Regions from separate parts of the Homo sapiens genome. Here region 1 is linked to region 2. Evidence: promoter capture Hi-C in human tissues and cell types (Jung and others, 2019). All regions are on one chromosome and are shown on one strand. Each heading gives the region's core, a stretch centred on a gene start or on the middle of the fragment in contact. The rest is flanking DNA. Distances are from core to core; before and after follow the strand shown.

Evidence for each region. Contacts are between HindIII fragments. The study calls those that stand out against the background at their distance.
Region 1: a contact is called between a fragment that was not itself captured here and the fragment with the promoter of STX16-NPEPL1 in region 2, in 1 of the 25 tissues and cell types used here (dorsolateral prefrontal cortex).

What each region holds. Positions count from the first base shown.
Region 1 is chr20:57,607,975-57,613,971 of GRCh38, reverse strand. ZBP1 (Z-DNA binding protein 1) reads left to right here. Exons shown (of 8, transcript NM_030776.3): 5 at 642-809; 6 at 2,042-2,245; 7 at 3,605-3,823. Among named protein-coding and RNA genes, the nearest start is that of ZBP1, 9.5 kb to the left of the region's middle. The HindIII fragment of the contact is 6,241 bases long and covers 1,412-5,997 here.
Region 2 is chr20:58,648,763-58,654,679 of GRCh38, reverse strand. STX16-NPEPL1 (STX16-NPEPL1 readthrough (NMD candidate)) reads right to left here and starts at 3,427. Exons shown (of 23, transcript NR_037945.1): 1 at 2,542-3,427. STX16 (syntaxin 16) reads right to left here and starts at 3,397. Exons shown (of 9, transcript NM_001001433.3): 1 at 2,542-3,397. The coding sequence starts at 2,673. LOC107985410 (a long non-coding RNA gene) reads left to right here and starts at 5,045. Exons shown (of 3, transcript XR_005647058.2): 1 at 5,045-5,691. RefSeq lists enhancers at 2,028-2,531, 2,369-2,638, 5,668-5,917 and a silencer at 4,135-4,494. The HindIII fragment of the contact is 3,892 bases long and covers 2,335-5,917 here.

The DNA.
Region 1 (5,997 bases), core at 3,283-5,782, 1.0 Mb after region 2:
TGGGGGAAGGGCCCACAAAGGCACAGGAGCTGAGACCCTGGAGGGTGGTGATGGGCCCCGCACAGTCTGGGCAGGTGCCTGCCTCAACCTCTGCAGGGCTGACTCTGCTACTCATGACGGGTGCCCGAGGGGGTCTCAGCATCCTAGGGCTGCTGTGAGGAAGGAATAACGCGTGACAGCCACCAGATTTTAAACACTAGTGACAAATTCAAATATTGAAAATGTCATGGGAGCCAAACACGACCGATCTGGCCCAATGGGCTGCTGTTTCTCGGCCATTACTCAAGGGAAAAGGGCAATGGTGCAGGTGCTCGGGGGTCCGGGCTGTGGCTGCCCCCTAGGGAGAGCAGTGTGGGGCCCCTGCGGTCCTCCCAGCCAGCAATCATGGCGGCCCAGCCATGGAGGCAGCAAAAGACACAGGTAGGGTGACTCACAGTGGCTATTTTCAAGTGAGGCTCCCTCTGAGGTACCTGTGGTGTCTGTTAAACACCCAGCTCTGGCCTCCCACTTGGCCCTACTGACTCGGAACGCCCAGGGTATTTTAACAAGCTCCCCAGGAGAATTTGGTGCTGCCGACTGGTATTGGGAACCCCTGACCCATAGACAGTGGCAAAGGGATACAGTTGAATATTATTTTGCAGAAGATTCTGGAAGAAGAGCAAAGTCAGCCTCAATTATTTACCAGCACAATCCAATCAACATGATCTGCCAGAATGGACCCAACAGCTGGATTTCCATTGCAAACTCCGAAGCCATCCAGATTGGACACGGGAACATCATTACAAGACAGACAGTCTCCAGGGAGGACGGTAAGTCACCCAAGAGAGCCCAGGGAGGGGACCTCGGTGGGGAGCCACCGGATCCTCTGGGTGGGGGCAAAGGGTAGGGATGGGGAGTGGGGGGATTCTGCCCTCCAAGGGGAAAGGGTTGCTTCCAGACCCCCACAGTCCACCTTTACGGCCGTCCTGAGAATGAGGACACCTGGATCAAAGCTCTCCTGATTTCCCTGTACTCTGATACTTTCTACCTCATTTTAAAGTTTAATTTAATTTTTATTTTTCTAATAAAATTTTAAAATTAAGATGGGGTATCTCTGTGTTGCGCCTGACCTTATGCCTCATTTTCAATGGGGTCCGGTGTTTTTCATGAGAAACAACTCAATTGCCTTTCCCTCCGCGGAATGCTACAGGGGAGGTTATTGTAGTACCGTATTTGTTCTGAGACACGCTACTTTCCCCCACATTTTAACAGGCTGGAAACTGGGGTGCATCTCACCACCTGTGGCATCCTAGTTTGGATGAAATGCGGTGTTGCACTTTGAGCACTTACCCTGTGCCGGGCACTGTGGCAAGAGGGGACAGAGCCACCTGTCAGCCCAGCCTTGTCACCTGTGAGTGACAGCATCAGCCCCAAAGTCGGGACACTCCCTGTAACCTTGGGAGAACCTTTCCCCACTGTCAGCCTCAGTTGTGAAATGAGGAACCTTGTTCTAGAATCTAGATCATGGTTTCCCTAGCTTTAATCTTCTGAGCCCCACCTTCCTGATTCTGGCCATACCCATGTCTGATTATTTAATTAATGTTGTTGAGTAGTGCACCTTTTTAAAAATTTATTTTAAAACAATTTTATAGTATTATTTTAAGTGTAAATCATGAAAAACACCATAAAAATAAATGTTGTCCCTGGCAGTTAAAACACTGCGGGAGGCTCTGAGCCTTTGGTGTTGGCACCAAACGAGACTTGGTCCCCATGAGGTCAGAAGGCTCGGGAGTGACTGGGAATCAGAACAAGGAGCTCATTGTTTGGGTTTGTGAGTGTCCCTGCAACACCCAGGACCAGCCCCGCTCCTGAGAACTCAGGGAGCCCCAAAATGAGCTATTCCGCCAGGTCCTCTTGCTCTCTAAGCCAGAGCCTGAAGTCTTTGGCCGCCAGTTCGATGGTGTCCAGGAAGAATTCAGAGGACAGGCCTGCGTGTGGTGGTGAGGGAAAGGAAGAAGCCTGCAGTAATCTCCGGTGAGGCTGTGCCACTGTCCCCTGCCAGGTTCCGCCGGTCCACGCCACCTCCCTTCAATGGCACCAGGTGATTCCTCAACTTGGGGGACCCTAGTTGATCCCTGGGGGCCCCAGGACATCCACATGGAGCAGTCCATACTGAGACGGGTGCAGCTGGGACACAGCAATGAGATGAGGCTCCACGGCGTCCCGTCCGAGGGCCCTGCCCACATCCCCCCTGGCAGCCCCCCAGGTAACTGGGATCTAGAGGCCAGACCCAACTCTGCCACCCCGTGGGTCCTCACTGGAAGGAACTGGAGCCAGAATCTTTTTGGGAAGAGAAGCATGATGGGAAATTCCTTTCCTTCCACCAGGCAGCTGAACCAGAGTAGAGCAGGTGGGGCTTTTAAAGCTAGCACTCTAGGCTGGGCGCGGGAGCTCACACCTGTAATCGTAGCACTTTGGGAAGCCAAAGCGGGTGGATCACCTGAGGTCAGGAGTTCGAGACCAGCCTGACCAATATGGTAAAACGTCTCTATCAAAAATACAAAAAAAAAAAAAAAAAAAATTAACCGGGCATGGTGGCTTGCGCCTGTAGTCCTAGCCACTCGGAAGGCTGAGGTAGGAGAATTGCTTGAACCTGGGAGGCAGAGGTTGCAGTAAACGGAGATCGCACCACTGCACTCCAGTCTGGGTGACAGAGTGAGACTCCATCTCAATAAATAAATGAATAAAATAAAGCTAGCACTCTGGATCCCCATCCCCTACGACCCACTGCAGGAAACCTCAGTTTCCTCATTTGTAAAATGAGCAGAGAAGCAGAGGCTGGGCCAACTGGAGCAGGGTGATGGTTTGAGACTGGAATGGTGTTTAGGGAGGATGGAAGACAGGTGCCGTACTAGGAGCTGTGGCTGCAGTGACCAGAGGGCCCCAGGCAGAGGCCTCCCCCACACTGGGAATGCAGAGATGGGCTGGGGGAGAAGAACCAGCAGAGAAGCCAGAGAGGGAGGAGGAAAGCAGAGGCCCCGGGAAAGGAGTCTCCAGAGAGGGGCCAGGCTGGTGAGACCAGGGAAGCATCTGTGGGGTTCAGCGAGAGGGATCGTGGTAACCTTGAGGGGGTGGTTTCTGGGGGCCAGGGAGCAGAAGAGGTCTCGGGGGTGGAGGGGGCGGGACTCAGTGTGGATGATTCTTCAGAAGTTTGGGTGGGAAAGGGCAGAGCCAGATGGCAGGAGCTGGGGCCAGGCTGGGAGCCCCCATAAGATTTCAACCAAAAGTGGGGGCCAGTGTTCCAGTGCAGTGGGAAGCAGGCAGCAGAGGAGAGAGGAGCTGAATCCCAGAGGAAGACACTGACGTCCAGATCAGCCGGGCGGGATCAGTGGGGCAGACCCACTGCGGGATCAGTGGAGCAGAAAGACGCTTCCCAGACAGCACAACAGCACGAGCGGAGGTGTGGCGGGTGGAGGTGTGGCGGGCAGGCACAGGCTGTGCTCCTGGGATGGTGTGGGCCACTGGTGGGAGATCTGGGGAGGAGGGTGAACCAGGCTGGGGGTCAGGGTTCCCGGCCACTGTCCAGCTGCTCCTGGCTCCAGGCCTCTCTCCCTTTGACCCACAGTCTCTGCCACTGCTGCCGGCCCAGAAGCTTCGTTTGAAGCAAGAATTCCCAGTCCAGGAACTCACCCTGAGGGGGAAGCCGCCCAGAGAATCCACATGAAATCGTGCTTTCTCGAGGACGCCACCATCGGCAACAGCAACAAAATGTCTATCAGCCCAGGGGTGGCTGGCCCAGGAGGAGTCGCAGGGTCTGGAGAGGGGGAGCCAGGGGAGGACGCAGGTGAGCTAGGGGGCAGAGTGGACCCCTGTGTGTTCTCTCTCTCTCCCCACCTTCCACTCATTCATTCATTCACTCTCATCGATCATTCGCTAATCTCTGGTTTCCCGGAGTCTGGAGGCTGTGCCCACCCACAGCGAGGAGCAGCAGCTCTAGAGTCAGCGTGGAGGCTCCGTCCCCCTAGTGGAGGGACCCACCCAAGTCATTTCACCCAGGAGCCTCTGTCTCCTTAGCTGTAAAGTGGGATGGCAAGAATAGCCTGAAGCAACTCCTACAGTGGTTGCAAGACTGGGGTAAAATCTGAAGGCGAAGCTCAGCCCTACACCAGCCCTGCCAGCATTCAGGAGATAGGAGTGTTATTGTCTCATCATTGTTGTGGTGATTGTTTTGGGCCCGAGAGAGGTGCTGGGTTGCCATGCAAATAAGGTTCTGCATCAGGGCACAGGCTGACCTGCTGCAGTGGAGATGCCACACACGGTGGCCCCGCCTGCTTGAAGCCCAAGTCTCATGTCCGGGTGAGGGTAGCAGACCAGGGTTTCTTTTACCTCAGTGCTGAGTCGTCCCTTGGGCTCCGTCCTCATCTGTGGGGTTGAACTTAGCACCAGCAAGCAGAGGGGCGAGAGAGGGTACAGAGAGCCGCTGTTGTCTTTGACCAAGCCCACCCACTGCATCTGTGCTGTTCTGAGGGCCTGCACTTAGCCACGGGGGGTCTGGGAAGTGCCGCCTGTGTCAAGGCAGTCTAAGCCCAGCAGAGACTCAGGGGAGGGGGCTCCACTGCCAACAGGAAGAGGGGAGAGGGGAAACCAGTGCGGTTCACCGTCCCAGCCACCGTTTGGTCCCTGGAAGCTGCACAGGCTGGTTGCAGAGCCTGAGGATTCCAACTCTGCAGAAGGGAGCTCGGGGCCTCGGGTGGGGGCAGCTGGAGAGTTGGGCAGGTCCACGCAAGGTGGGGAGGGCCAGGGCAGGTGTACCTGGTGGGTGGAACAGTGTGGACAATGGCCTGGAGGTGAGGACATGACAGTGTGGGAACCCACAGGGGTTTGAGGGTGACCTGAGCATGGAGAGCAGAGCCAGGGCCTGGCTCCAGGCTGCAGTCGATGCTAAGGCAATTGGAAGCCATGGGGGGCTTTGAGCAGGAGAGGGGCTGGATGAGATTTTTGCCTCCCATGTGAAAAAAGAATTAGAAGGCGGATTTCCGCTCCTACCCTTTTGGGATCTGGAATAAGGAATCACACCCAGTCCCACCAATGGGTAGAAAACATGGATTCACGGAATCTGGAGGACTGGCCGGCATCCACCCTCCAGTGCCTGAAGGCCCAGGGGATGCATGTCCTGGAAGTCCAGAGGGTCTCCTCACCCCAAGGGCCGTGTCCTTGCTGTCCCAGCAACTGAGGAGACCCTGGCCCCACGTGTCTTCAAACTCTCCCTCCAGGACCCCTGGGAGCCCCATGCACATGTGACACCTGCAGAACGGGGACCAGGAGCGCATTCCTCAGGACTCAGGCCATGAGCATCTGGGAGCATGGACTTCCTTCCAGCAGCAAAGGGAGTCTCTGAGACCTCCAAGGCCACTGGGGACCCTTGGGAGGGCATGTGCCACCAGATGGGGATCCGGCTTAGGACCCCACAGCACAGGCTGTCTGCAGAGCCCTGTGGGTCTCAAGCCAGACCATTGAAGACTTCTCTTTCCGGAAAGAACACAGCACTGTGTTTTTTAAAAATAGCCACACTTCTGGGTGTAGTGGCTCATGCCTGTAATCCCAGCACTTTGGGAGGCCGAGGCAGGTGGATCACGAGGTCAGGAGATCGAGACCATCCTGGCTAACACGGTGAAACCCTCTCTCTACTAAAAAATACAAAAAATTAGCCAGGCATGGTGGCGGGCACATGTAGTCCCAGCTACTCAGGAGGCTGAGGCAGGAGAATGGCGTAAACCTGGGAGGCGGAGCTTGCAGTGAGCCAAGATCATGCCACTGCACTCCAGCCTGGGCGACAGAGCAAGACTCTGTCTCAAAAAAAAAAAATGGTCACACTCCCAGATTTGCCCTGCAACATCCTGACATTCTTCCCTAAGGTTCTAGCAGAAGAGCTGATGACATCTTTGCCCCTTGCCCTGACCCACCCACCTCTCTTTGTCCCCAAGAGACATCAATAGGCATAGCTCAGAGATATTATGG
Region 2 (5,917 bases), core at 2,178-4,677:
TGCTACATGGCTTTGAAATTTACAAGTCAGAAACAAGGCTTTAAATTTTTTGTGAGCTAGATATGCAGTGAAAAGCATTGCTAAGAGTTACTCAATAGATTTTACAAATTGTGTTAAACATGGCTTTTGCTTCAAAATGTTTATAAAGCTTTTCCAACTTCCAGAAAAGTTGAAAAAATCATAACCTCTATTTAGTCTTGTTAGCATTTCGCCGTACTGTGTGCAGAATAGATTTTGTTACGAATCACCTGTAAGCAAAGTGAAGATGTAACACTTCAACCCTAAATACTTCAGAAATTTATGACATGCCATTTTTTAACACAATTAAAATATATAAATCTGTGTTTTATTTTTAAATTTGAATTCAGGCAAACTATGTTTGTTAGACTGCAAAACCTATTTTTGAGATAGTATGGATTGACTATAAGGATATTTTAAATGATATGACTGCTTTCAATGATCTGAGAAAGATTTTAAATGGTCAGACTAATATAAATATTAACATTTTCAATGGTATGACATTTAGAAAACATTTTTTAACGTTCTTAGAAATGTATTTTTAGTTGGGTTTAGAAATCTATTTTCAAAAAACTGTGAGTTAGCTAAATGTATCTGTATATACCCTGACATATCTATTTTTCCAAACTGTATACGTTAACTATCCATTTTTAATTATTCTGCTTAGCTTAAATATTTTTTAAAATTGCCTAACTTAGAAAATAATTTTCTAAAGTGGTCTGATTCAGAGATGCACTTTTAAAAAGCTTCCCGTCTCAGATACTAGGTTTTTAAACTGTCTGACTTAATCGGGAAAAAAAAAAAAACCCTCATGTTACCCAAAGGTTCAGGGTATTTTGAACCTTAATGATTAAAAATTGAAAAATAAACAATATGTTTTTCAATTAAAACTGATACCTTAGAAATCTTAATATGAGTTTCAGTAGTTTTTGAGGCAGCACAAAATCAAGTCATTTAAGGAACATGCAGTTCTTATTTAACATTACTGAAGTTCCATTAAGGAATTGAATTCATCCAATTTCTACTCGATTTCTTGGATTATTTCTTCTTCAAAATTAGCGCTAGAATTAGCCTGTTTCTATGCTACCAGACATCTTTACATTTATTTCAATATAATGTAATTCCTTTCCGTTTATAAATGTAAAAAAAACCCTTCAACTTCTTAATTAACTGAAATCTCACACACACTCTGTCCCTAGTTCTAGGCTGTTTGACCTGAGTTTACATGCTTTTATTCCTGAAACCGCTCACACGGCTTAAAATGACTTTTCTATCAGTTATATGGCCAAAGACATTCTCCACCTGTGACTTACAAAAAGGAGAAACTGTCTTTGTAGACATGATAATCATGACATATGGCAAAATTTTCCTGAAGCATTTAGATAAAGCCATAAAGAAAAAAATAAACTGGCAATACAGTCCCTAAGAGGTGAAATGAATGTTCCAAAATTGCCTAATATCAAGTATAACCCCCAAGAATGTGGTCCTGGGATGGCTATTTCCCGCCTGTTCCAACGCTGCTTCTATTCCAACCTAGTCTGCCTACAGCAGGTAGCCTGAACTACAGCCAGTTTCATAACTTCACTTTTCAATTGAAGACATTACAGAGCTAACGATCACTGTCTGGTATAGATCATCCAGACTCGCCCCTTATTTAACAGAGCAGTAAACTGAGGCTCAGAAAGGGAAAAGTAGCCCCCATTAAAAACAAACCCCAAACAGTAATTTTTCCAGGACCACCCTTAAAAAACGCTACTGCTAGGCTAACTAAAGGTTGTGGTTAATTAAAAAAAAAAAGTGCTATTTTACGGGGTTAATTTTCACATATACCTCCTCAGGCTTTTTTTAAAAAGTTCGAATGGAGAGGAAAGCTTAATTTCCTGTCTGGGAAATGGAAAGTGAAGAGGCTAGCACCTTGAGTCTCACAAACGCAAGCCCCCAGGAAGAACAGTGAGGCAATTATTCACAGGGAACAAGGCCACACAGAGGGCTGCGGGGCCGTTAAAAGAAAACGGGCGGAAAAACAAAACAAAACAAAACAACAACACAACTCCCTCCTCTTTGAGGGGAGGGAGTCGTTCATTTTGCAAGGATTTGGGTCTACGATCCGGCGACCCAGCCCTTAGGACCAAACTGAGGCTCATTACTGGGGGGAGGGGAGCTTCAAACAAAACGAAACAAAAAGGCTTCAGAAAGGCCCAATGCTTCCCAATGTTAGCGTTAAAACATATGTAAATTACAGGCGGCCTGTAGCGCAGTGACGCCAAGGCGGGGGGTGCGGGGGGGGGGGTGCTGCGGAAGTGAGGAGAAGACCGGGCAGAGGTGGAGCTGCGGCCTCACAGCACCGCTTCTTCCTCATCCAGGGCTACAGATGCCCCCTGACTCTAGCCAAGAGATCTTATTATTCTTAGTCTTATTATTCTTATCTTCTCTTTTTAAACAGAGAGACAGACAGAGACAGACAAACAGGCAGAGCCGCAGTGCACACGGTCCGTGTGTCGGAGAGGCCGCCAGGAGACTCACCGCAGCAATGCTACGTGAATGCAGAGGGCTGGAGGTGATGTGACTACTCACTTGCTCGGCTAACAGCTGCCGGTTTTGGATGGAATTATTCCGCAACAACAAGAAAGCGTCGGTTAAACGCCTGGTGGCCATGTCTCACCCTTTGCGACCCCCCTCTCAGGGGCCCCCCGCCCACTTATATTCCTGATTTATTCACTTTCTTTCTCGTGGCCCGGCTGGCCCACCCTTTCACGGAAGCTTCTCGACAAGGCCTCAGGCCTCAAGCCAAAAAGATGCAGCTGTGCGCTTCGCCAAGGCGTAGAGACCCCTCCCCAAATAACTACCTAGGCTTTCCAATTGTCTGACTCCCCCTACCCAGGGCAGACTTCGATCTCTAAGCACTTGAATCCCCCCAATCCTTGCGTAGCGATCCAACGTCCCAGAGACCCCACCCCAATCCAACCTTGGATCTACAAGCGTCTAACTCGCCAATCCGGCTCTAGACTGGGAGGCCCTGAAGCCCCCTACTCCCTGAGACCCCCCGGAGGTCTCTGCTCTCTACCCCTAACTTTGGCTCGTAAGCGTCTAGGCCGTGCCCTGAGGTCTGGCTGTGACTCAGTTTCCGCACCAGAGGCCTGGCCTAGGCCCTCTTTGGACAACCGGAGCCAGGCTTGGGGCCTGGACTCGAGGGCGCCTGCAGCTCCCTTCTGGGGACTTGTCTGAACCTGCTGAGGCCCTGCCCGACCTCCTGACCCCTTCCTTTCCTGGACGGCCTGGTCCTCCACTGCCAGCAGGCTGCCGGCCTGCAGGAAGACAGCAGGGCCTGCCTCCCCGGCCTTCTCACTCCTCTTCTCCGGCTCCCTCCATCCCCGGATCTGACTGCAGCTCAGCCCCGGACCGTTTCCGTGCTGTGGTCCCGGGTTCTGGCGTTCCCCCCTGGCCCTCTTCCTGTCCGTCCCTCGCGAGTGCCCCCCTGCGACGCTCGCAAGCCTTGCTCGCAACGTTCCGGGCGCGGGAGCTCCCTGCACTCCTGCCCCGGGGCACGGGAGTGCTCCGCCCTCTCCCGGGGTGCTCCTCGGGCGCCCTGTTTCGCCTCCCCCAACTGGGTCCAGGCACTAGGAGCAGGCCAACGAGCAGGCCTGAGCCTGGGGAGCGTGGCCCCCAGGCTGCAAACCGCTGCCAGGGCCCTTGGTCGCTGAATTAGAGTGGAAGTTGCGCGGCAGGCAAATTTGGGCTCCCCAAGAACTGAAGTTTTGGGCGCGGGGAGTTGGAGCGGGAGAGGAAAAGTTGGAGACGACTGCCTCTGCAGGCCGAGCACGCTCTACTGCAGGCGGCGGCGCTCGCTTTTTTTTTTTTTTTTCCCACTCTGGAAAAAGATGTATCCGACAAACAACCACGAGGAAATAAAAGGAAAAAAAAAAAAAAAAAAGGAACAAGAACTCCAGGCAGCCTGGCCGCGCCGCCGCTGGCAGTCGGGGGTCGTCGGGGGCGCCCGCCCTCCCCAGCTGCCGCTTTCTGTAGGGGGCACTGCAGGGTCGTGGAATCTCAAGTGGAAAAGTTCCCCGAAAACTTTGACACCTCCCACCCCCCTCCCCGCGAAAAAAATCTCTGTTCCCTGCCTGGGCCCTGGCCCTGCGACCCCCGCGCCCCCCCGTGCCCCGGGCCGGGTTTTCCACGGTTGGCCGGGCCCAGGGCGCCCTAAGCACCTCGACTTGCCGCCCCGGGCCAGGTCGGCGGGGTTCGTGCAGGGGCTCCGTGGGGCCGCGTCGGGCAGGGGCCGCCCGGGCCCGAGCACGGCACCCACAAACAGGCTGGCGTCCCGCGACGGAGACCCGGGTCCGGCCCGGAGCCGCCCGGGAGGCTTGAGGCCAAGGGCCTGGCCCAGCGCGCGGCCGGAGCGGGTCGGGGGCGCAGAGCTGTGCGGCGGCGCCTTCCGGGCCCCGGGCCTGTGCAGGGCCGGCTTCCCCTTGCGGGGCGAGGCTGCGGGCCGGGCTGCGGTGCGGGGTTCCAACAAAGGACCGAGGCCCCAGAAGCGGCCCCCACGCGTCCTTTGTTTCTGCGTGGAACAAACTTTACACACGTGTGTGTTTTCCGAGGGTTTCCCGTGTGCTGAGCGCTTGCAAAGCGGAGTCGCGCCCGGGGAGACGCGAAGCCGGTGCCCGCGGCTCACCCAGGGACCCCAGCCAGACAGCGGCACCCGCGGGGCGCGTGCGGGACCCCCAGGCGACCGGGGGAAGCACCGGTAACCGCCCCCCACCCGTGCTTTTTCTCTCACGGAGAATGTTCCCGCGCGTTCGTTGTGCAACTAAAAATTAATGTGAAACATCCATTGAGGCAAATAACAAAATGCATCCAACGAAACCCACATAAAATCGAGAGAGCCGCGAGCAGGGCTGGGCGAGTTCACTGTGAGGACCGGCTCTGGCTTCCGCGCAGCGCGGAGAGCAGGGCGCTCGCCCGGGGACGCTTCGCAGCGGTGGAAGATTCGGGCGACAGGGGACTGGGTCGCCGCGCGGGCCGGGCTGGAGGCTGCAGGGACTTGCTGACAGGCCATCCAAAGACAGAGAGGCCCTGGGGAGGGAAATTCGGGGAGCCCGTGTGCTTAGCGTAGCGCCCCGGGAAATATTTGCCCAATAAGGGAGAGTTTGTCCCCACACTGCGGCAGAACCCCCCTGCGAGCTCTGACCCCAGCAGCACGGCCAAGCCCCCCCAACCCCGCTCCCCCCTTTAGGGGACAGGTATTTGTAAATAACAACTGAGCTGGTCGTCGGTAGGAGAATCAGATTAGAAACATGGTCCCCACTCTCTTCCTATCTCCCCAGCACTCATCACCTCACAAAGCAGGGGGGGACCTGTTTACTTTTCCTGGCGCTCTCCCCCAGGCTAGAACGTGATCTTCTTCCTACGCAGGGACAGTGTTTTATTCATCTTTGTACCCACTGCCATCTCATCTGGCTTGGAACAGGCTCCGGATAAATATTTTTTAAATATGTGCATGAATTAATGAGAGACTCGAGATTTAGTCCCCAAACTCTCTGACCTCCCTCGAGTGACTTTAAGCCTTTAGAGCCCTTATCTGTTAAGAAAAAAAGAAAAAAATGTGGGTTTTTCGTAATCCTCGTAATCCGCGCCCTGTCTACTTCTCTGGGGTTATTGTGAAGATCAAATAAGGTAAGTGAAAACTCTTTGTAAACTACCAGGTGCTGAGCAAATATTATATAGGATGGTTATTCATTCATTCCCTCCGTTCAGGAAGCTTAGCAAAGTAATTCCTGGTCTTGTGTTTCAGCAGATGGTGGTCGCCTTTCCTGGTCAGTCTTAAATATTTATTACAGGACAATCTCATTCTTACATTTAGGAGATCAATCAAGCTTCCATTTCTTTGAGCGAAATGAAC